Linked DNA regions of Homo sapiens: region 1 is linked to region 2. The links are contacts of gene promoters, found by promoter capture Hi-C in human tissues and cell types (Jung and others, 2019). All regions are on one chromosome and are shown on one strand. Each heading gives the region's core, a stretch centred on a gene start or on the middle of the fragment in contact. The rest is flanking DNA. Distances are from core to core; before and after follow the strand shown. Region 1 overlaps EYA3 (EYA transcriptional coactivator and phosphatase 3). Region 2 holds the start of FAM76A (family with sequence similarity 76 member A).

The links. Contacts are between HindIII fragments. The study calls those that stand out against the background at their distance.
Region 1: a contact is called between a fragment that was not itself captured here and the fragment with the promoter of FAM76A in region 2, in 1 of the 25 tissues and cell types used here (mesenchymal stem cells).

Annotation. Positions count from the first base shown.
Region 1 is chr1:28,045,916-28,050,255 of GRCh38, reverse strand. It overlaps EYA3 (EYA transcriptional coactivator and phosphatase 3), which reads left to right. Exons shown (of 18, transcript NM_001990.4): 3 at 1,830-1,873. Among named protein-coding and RNA genes, the nearest start is that of EYA3, 41 kb to the left of the region's middle. The HindIII fragment of the contact is 5,379 bases long and covers 1-4,027 here.
Region 2 is chr1:27,724,411-27,728,897 of GRCh38, reverse strand. It overlaps FAM76A (family with sequence similarity 76 member A), which reads right to left and starts at 2,937. Exons shown (of 9, transcript NM_152660.3): 1 at 2,737-2,937; 2 at 1,362-1,426. The coding sequence starts at 2,817. RefSeq lists silencers at 2,413-3,112, 2,951-3,593. The HindIII fragment of the contact is 12,090 bases long and covers 1-4,487 here.

The DNA.
Region 1 (4,340 bases), core at 89-2,588, 320 kb before region 2:
ACGCCATGGCACTCCAGCCTGGGTGACAGAACAAGACCCTGTCTCAAAAAAAATAATAATAATAATAATAATAATAATAAATAAAAAGTAAATTTAAAAATGTTGCTCCAGGACCTTTTTTTTAAATCCTTTTTTCTTTTGGAGTTGATTAACTAAATTTGTTGCTCTATACCTCTAATAAAATGAAGACTATGATAAGTTAGACTCCTCAGTGCTCTAATTTTCTTTGTTTAAATTACTGTTTGAAGAGTATAGACTGTTTTGGTTACTCAGCCAACCAGCTCGTAATTACATTTCTTTGATAGCAAAGAGTCTTTGGATGAGCTAAGCATAAATTCATCTCCACTATTGGAAGAATATATTATTATCTGACCATATGTAACTACTATCATCTTTAGGTAGGAAGGGCAGAACATTTTATAAAAAAAGGCTATATTTTGTCATTTGTGAAATTATGGCAGGCAGATAAACTAGATAGTTGAATTTTTCTTGTCTTTAGCCTTATAGTTTCCAGGCAAAACACTGTTTTCCTATATTATCTAGGTCAGATCATATTTCCCTCACCTCTTTCAGTGAGATAGTCGTATACATTGGTAATACAGTTAGATTTTTTTGTCACAGTCTGCATACTATCCTGGAATCCCTCAACCTCCTGGTTGTTTTATGGTGTCTTTTATCATATAGAAGTTTAAAATTTTTGTGTAATCATATCTATTTTCTCCTTTATGGCTTTTGGATTTAATGTCATGCTTAATCAGGATTTGCCCACCTCAAGGTTTCGTTTTTTGTTTTTGCTTCAAATGCTTTAATGTAATTTTTGTTTCAAATTTAGAAATGTTTTTTTAAATTGCCTTTGTTTCTTTATTTTCTCCTTTTTGGTAACTATGAAAATTAAGAGAACATTGAATGGAACACATTTTGACATGCCATAAGCAAGGAACCAAGAATGTCTGGTCATGGTTGTGTATTCTCATGAGGAGTATATGGCCACGACAAATTTTATGGGGCTTGCCTGTATTATTTACCTTGTCTGAAATAGTCAATGTAATATTAAATATCTATGATTCCACCTGATACGCTTGCTTCAAATTATCTAGGAGAGTTTCTGCCTTCTTCTATTAGCTTGAAATACTTTTAAATATTCATAATTTGAATGGCTAAGCATATTAGACATGTTTCTACTACAACCAGTTCTAACCAGAGAGTTCTAAAATCAGATTCTCTGTAATATGAAAACAGAAAAATCCATTAGTATTAACCATTATCTTTCATTTGTGGATTCTTACACTGTTTCAATGGAAGTGCCTTCTCCCCAGAAGGAAATAGAAAATGTGAAATATGAAAAGAAAAAATACAGGGTTAACAATATTTTCTAAATTACTGGTAACCTGATAAGAATTCATATTAATTTTTGACACTAAACTAACTTAAGTATAAAGCCATTTTTGTTAAATAAATGAGTAGATGATACTTAGATTCCCATCTTTACTGTTTGTTTAAATATAATTTGCCTGTTACAGTATAAAACCAACTAGTTTGTATCAAAGCTTGGATACTTTATCCTAGTAAACATTCTGTCTACCTTGAGTAAAAATTCTGGTAAACAGTTTTTTTTTAATCAGAAGAACACTTTTTTCATTAAAAAGAAGAGCTCCATTTAAAAAACAAACTTCATTTCTAGCTCTAAAATATAACAAGGGTTAATTAAATCTAGACTAAACAAAATTAAACAGTTATCCTGTAATAGTTAATAGCCTGTTGTTTGAGTAGCTAAATGATTTAAAAAACAGATCAAGTACATTGATACCTTTGTATATTTATTTTTGCAGGTGAAAAAAGCCAAGATGCAGGAATCAGGAGAGCAAACTATAAGGTATGTAAAGTTTGCTTTCTTTTTAATGAACTACTCATAAGTTTTGTTTTTTTTTTTCACATGCTGATTAGCGTATGGGCATGCTTTGCCCTCTTTTTGGTTCTTACCATCAGCTGTTACATTTTGAAATTATTTGGTTTAAGATTAAAATTTCCTTTCCAAATAGTTTTTTCCTGAAACTTGTGCACTGATTTGTTCTTATGCATTCATTATTTATTCAACAATATGTACCAAACTCATGTTGTATATCAGGCACTGTGCTACATAGAGGAGACTTAATGGTAAAGATGAAAAGCACCATATTCTTCAGTCAGACGTACAATATACAGAATAGGAAGCATAAGCGAAATAAATAAAATCCAAGAGATTTGGTATTAATTACCAAATGGTTATGAAATGACTTAGTCATTAACCCCACTCCTCTTATAGAAAAGAGGAAGCTTGCGCCTGGCACGGTCGCTCACGCCTGTAATCCCAGCACTTTGGGAGGCTGAGGCGGGCAGATCACGAGGTCAGGAGATCGAGACCATCCTGGCTAACACGGTGAAACCCCGTCTCTACTAAAAATACAAAATTATTAACCGGGCGTGTTGGCGGGCGCCTGTGGTCCCAGCTACTCAGGAGGCTGAGGCAGGAGAATGGTGTGAACCTGGGAGGTGGAGCTTGCGGTGAGCTGAGATCGCGCCACTGCACTCCAGCCTGGGCGACAGAGCGAGACTCTGTCTCAAAAAAAAAAAAAAAAAGAGAAAAGAGGCAGCTTGTTTGCACCTCACAGTTTGGCTTCTTCATACCATGGTTTTCAGTTTTCCACAGTTCTTACCTTCTGTCGTTTGTGCACCAACCATATGAGCCAGTAACTGCATCACCTCTACCACATTAATTTCAAGAATCCTACACTTTTACCTCCACACACTATCATCCCGGCTCATTTATTCTAGAACTGCCATGCTAGCCATATGATGTCTTAAACTATCAATTAAATCATCTGTCATCTTTTCACCATCACCCCTTAAAAAGAACTTTAGTTTCTTCCTTATAAGAGACCAACATGGCGGAACCTTGTTTCTACTAAAAACACAAAAATTAGCTCGGCGTGGTGACTTGAGCCTATAATCCCAGCTACTTGGGAGACTGAGGCAGGAGAATGGCTTGAACCCACGAGGCGGAGGTTACAGTGAGCCAAGAATGCGCCACTGCACTCCAGCCTGGGCGACAAAGACTCTGTCTCAAAAAAAAAAAGGAACTTAACTGGCCAGGTGTGGTGGCTCCACTTTTGGAGGTCCAGGTGGGCAGATCGCTTGAGTTCAGTAGTTTGAGACCAGCCTGGGCGACATAGCAAGATGCTGTCTCTATAAAAAACACAAAAACAATTATCCAGGAATGGTGGTGCACACCTTTAGTCCCAGCTACTCGGGGCTGAGGCAGGAGGATTGCTTGAGCCCAGGGGCCAGAAGTTGTGGTGAGCCAAGATTGCGCCACTGAACTCCATCCTGGGTTGGTGGCAGAGCAAGATGCTGTCTCATTTAAAAAAAAAAAAAGAAAGAAAAATAAACTTAACTATAAGATCTACTGTAATTAGTCCCTTACAAACATTCTTAACTTCCTCACTTTTTTCTGTCATACTTGCCTAGCAAAACCACAACCCTGATTAAACCCAACTATCCACCTATTCTGTACTTATTCCCAATCACTTGTACATCGTGAGAGAAAAACACAAAATTGTGCTAACTGTTCCTAGTTTCTATTCATGATAAGATCTAAAACAGGCACTTAGTCCCCCTTCCTGGTATGTCTGATTTCCCAGCCTCTAAAATCATCTTAATTCCTTTATTCCCTCCCTCCTTGCCCCCTACCTTCTCCCTTTTCCCTCCCTTTCCTGCTATTTCCATTCACTCAGCTGTGGATCTTGCTCCCTAGTTCAAAGAGAGATTAGGAACATCTCCCTTCTCTCACCAAATCAACCTACTTAATCTGCTTCTCTTGGATATTGTTTATCTTTCCTCTGAAATTCCCTTGCTCTTATCGAAGGCTAACCTCTCCAGTTGTTTGAAAGAACCCATCACCTTCATCTTTTCCTGCAATTATCTCTTCTTTTACCTTCAGCAATTTTTTTACTATGATAAAATACACACAATATACAATTTACCATTTTAAGTGTACAGTTTAGTGGCACTAAGTACAATCACTTTGTCTTGCAACCATCACTACCATTCATCTCTAGAACTTTATTCATCTTTCCAAACTGAAATTCCATGTTCACTAAACAATATTCTCCACTCCCCCATCTCCAGCTCCTGGCAACCACCATTCTACTTTCTGTCTGCATGATTGTGACTGCTCTAAGTACCTCACAGAAATGGAGTCATACAGTATTTGTCCTTTTGTGATTCATCATGATGTCTTTAAGGTCTATCCATTTGTAGCATGTGTCAGAATTTCCTCTTTTTAAGGCTCAATAATACTCCAT
Region 2 (4,487 bases), core at 1,688-4,187:
CCACCTCCTGGGTTCAAGCAATTCTCCTGCCTCAGCCCCCCAAGTAGCTGGGACTACAGGTGTGTGCCACCACACCCAGGTAATTTTTTTGTATTTTTAGTAGAGACTGGGTTTCGTCATGTTAGCCAGGCTGGTCTCGAACTTCTGACCTCAGGTGATACACCTGCCTCAGCCTCCCAAAGTGTTGGGTTTACAGGCATGAGCCACCGTACCCAGCCCATTTCACACTTTTAAAAATGAGATTTGCCCAGGCGTGGTGGCTCACGCCTGTAATTCCAACATCTTGAGAGGCTAACGAGGAAGGAATCACTTGGGCCCATGAGTAAGAGACCAGCCTGGGTAACATGGCAAAATCTTATCTCTACAAAAATAAAAAAATTAGCTGGGCGTGGTGGCACACACCTGTGGTCCCAGTTACTTGGTAGGCTGAGGTGGGAGGATCACTTGGGCCCGGGAGGTCCAGGCTGCAGTGAGCCATGACGGCTCCACTGCACCCCAACCTGACTGGGAGAGAGAGACTCTGTTTCAAACAAAAAAAGAGATTTGCCCAAGGAAAGTGTAATGGCAAGTGAGTTTCAAATGTGACTAGAGCTAGCAAACTCTTATCAGGATTGTCACATTTCCAAAAGTATCTTCTTTGGGCTTATAAATTCTTCAATCTCTGTGTATGTACATATTGAAACATGAGGCTCATGTTTTACTGTTGTGGGATTGGTTTCTTCTTGACAAAAAGATTATAATCACAATATAAAATGATCAAGGGTCTTAAAAAGAACTTTAAAAATTTAAGCAGGCTGGGCGTGGTGGCTCACGCCTGTAATCCCAGCACTTTGTGAGGCTGAGGCGGGTGGATCACGAGGTCAGGAGTTCAAGACCAACCTGGCCAAGATGGTGAAACCCCGTCTACTAAAAATACAAAAAAACTAGCCGGACATGGTGGCAGGCACCTGTAATCTCAGCTACTTGGGAGGCTGAGGCATAAGAATCGCTTGAACCTGGGAGGGAAGGGTTGCAGTGAGCTGAGATCATACCACTTCATTCCAGCCTGGGTGACAGAGTGAGACTCCATCTCAAAAAAAAAAAAAAAAAAAAAAAAATTTAAGCAATCAATGGATAATAACTAGGAAACAATACATGTATTATATACCCTTCATTGTATATCTCACCCCACACATGAATTAACTCAAGATGGATCATAGACCTAAATATTTAGCAATTATAGTCTGTATATAATGTGATTGATTACAGATCTGTATTTTACAATGCAACTGATTATAGCATCTGTACATGAAATGCAATCAATTACAGATTTTAAGAGGAAAAAAGCCTATTAATATCTTTCATGGTCAACAAAACTCTACCTCTCCTGCTGGTACTCAGTCCTGCAGTAGGTGCACTTCACAACAGGGTGTGCAATCCGACATTCCTGAAATGAAATGAGGATATAATTTTAAAAGGCAGTCACAAATGGAAACAGCCTTCAGTAGGAAGCCGACCTGGGTACTATTTCTAGCATAGCTACTATGCTTGAGTGAGTCACTTAAACTTTCTGGGCCTTATTTTTCTCCTCTGTAATACTGGCATCACTTCCCTACTGTTGATGTGGGAGTTAAGTAAGAACTTATATGGATTATATGGAACTAGCCATAAATTGTAAAACAAACATATATATGAACAAGTCCCAGACTGGGAATCAGAAGCCCTGAATTCCAGGCCTGGTTCTTCTGCCACTGTGTGATTTTGCGGTTTACTTGTGAAATGAAAGTGCTGGATTAAAATTATTATTTATATATACATAACTTCCTTAAAATCATATATACATATTTTGAGGCCAAAAAGGGCACTCAAGCACTTGCATTCCCCCAGACCTGGTATATAAAAACTGGCAAATGGAAAGTCATGACCATCTGAGGCAAAAGTGACAATTATGAGTTATCCAAATCAGAGACACAAACTGGATTATTGGATAACCTCAACATTATTCTTCAGCCAGTTTGGTGACTTTTTAACTGTTGCCTCACAGCACCTCTAGTCACTTAAAAAGTAAAAGTGGGATAAAGCAACTTAAAAGAAAAAGAGAAGTTGGACCTTCAGGAGCAAAAACTGATCAGCAGCTAGTCAGGGAAGACCGAAGACCACCAACTGGATGCTGAGAAGTGATCCCTCGGATCTGTGAGCCTGACTGTGGGGCTTTTTTAAAACATAAAGCCTTGCTGCCTCCGATTCTGAGACTGGCCGAAAAGTGAGATGCTTAAAAAAAAAAAAAAAATCAAGCCTTGCTACCTCCGATTCTGAAACTGGTCGAAAAGTGCCCGTGAGGAGCCCGAGTTCGACACATTCCTCCAAGGCAGCACCCAACTTTGGAGTTCAGTCCCAGGAGGGGCAGGAGGTCCCCACCAGGGAGACCGCGGCGGCGGGGGAGGCAGCGCAAAGGGATCCCGAAGGCGACCAGTCAGGGCAAGCAGGGGACCCGCTGTCCCTCCCCCGACCTCACGGGGTCCGAGAACAATCCCCACGGTTGCTAAGCACCCGGACACGCCGGCCGCGGGAGCCTGGACCGGGTCCCGGCTCCCGCACGTGCCCCGCCGGCCCCCAGCGGGGTGGGTGCGGCTCCTCAGCCTGGCGGGCCTGCCACACCCTGCTCCGGGGACCCCGCCGGGCGTCCCCACAGAATCTGGAGCTCCGGGCCGCGCCTCCTGCGTCCCCAGTTCCCGGCCGCCGCCCCAGCCCGCGCACCTTGCACAGCTGCTGCCCCTGAGACAGCGCCTCGAAGGGGAAGCGCTGGTGGCACTTGGTGCAGGCGTAGAGCGCCGCCATGTCCGGCCCGGGCCGCGCTCACCGACCCGCCGGCCCGGCCCGCCGATTTATCTGACAGTCTGAGGCACAACCCGGCGGCGGCTGCAGGCTGCTGGCTGCGGCAGGCGGGCGGGCGCAGGCGGGTCGGGGCGGACCCGGGCGGGCTGGGGCGGGCACGGCGACTCTAGACGCCCGCTCACTGGTGGGCTTTGACGTCGATCAAGTGGGAAGGGGCGGAACACGGAGCTTTCGCCCACTCTGATTCGGTCTGGCCTGGAGTACGCCACTGTGACGCTCCAGGCCGCGATTATGTAAAGCGCAGTCACGCGGGGGCGCCACCTGGAGGGGACAGGCTCCCGGCCGGGACCTCGGAAGAGCTTAGGCTCCGCCCTACTTGCTCAGCGTTCCCGCCCTCGCTCCGCCTCTCCACGGCCTCAGGCGCATCTGCGCTTCTCGCGATACCTTCGGGGATTTGTGATGTTTTGGTTTCCATGGAGCTGCCCTCTGGGAGCACGAGGGGTACAATTGGAACGAAGGCGGCGCACAGTTAACTGGAACTCTGCAGCCGTCCAAGCCCAAAGAAGGTGGGGAGCTTGGGAAAGAAGTTCCTCATAATCGGAGCAGGAGGAGCCCGCCCAGCCTCGCTCAAAGGAGGAGACGAGACTCTGAGGGACAATTTAGAAGTGTGTCCTCAATTTAAGACACCTAAATAGGGAACTGTGGGGCTGTGGGCCTTAGGAGAGAAAAGGAGAGCCCCAGAGAGAGCACCCCTATGCTGCGGAAGAGGGACTAAAGAGATGGCAGTCCTTCCAGGAGGGATTGGACAGATATTCAGGCGTCCGGTGGCCTGCAGGCCCCCATCAGAGTGGGCTGCAATTGGCCCAGACCTGCTTCCTACTTTGTTTTCTCCGGTTTCACCCCCAGCTTCTCTCGCAAGCAACCACCTGGTGATTCCTGACGAGGCCTGACTTCCGGAAGGCAAGCCACGCCCTCCGGGCTCCCCTGCCTCTCTTTGGCTCCAGCTTGGCATGTATAGGAGCTGCCCAAGGAATGACAGACTTCTTGTTCTTGAGGTGTTGGCAAAGCTTCCTGCACTGCTGACCTATCCAAGTCCTGCCTTGTAGCTGCTCTTGGGCATAGGTTACTCTTGGCTCTGCCAACCACCCGTACAGGACTAATTGCAGTTTTACCTCAACGTGCGCTTTTTACAATTAAAAACTGACTTAATGGCTTCTATTTCCCTGCCTCAACAAAAAAAATTTACTCTCTCTGAACCCAAATCTGGCTGCTTCCTTGTAGGATCCCCCAAAGATGTGCATTAATCATTAGGATCAGAAAGCAAAGTTTCCAAATCACTGTTCCACAACTAACTACATGACCTTGGATCTATCACTGAACTTCTCACGGCCTCGTTTTTCTCAATTGTACAATGAGGTCATTGTGAGAATCAAAACCAGTACATGAGTCGGGGCGGGATGGCTCACAACTGTAATCCCAGCACTTTGGGAGGCTGAGGCCAGAGGATCACTTGAGCCTTGGGATTTAAGACCAGCCTGGGTCGGCCGGACGCGGTGGCTCACGCCTGTAATCCCAGCACTTTGGGAGGCCGAGGCGGGTGAATCACCCGAGGATCACCTGAGGTCAGGAGTTCCAGACCAGCCTGACCAACAAGGTCAAACCCTGTCTCTACT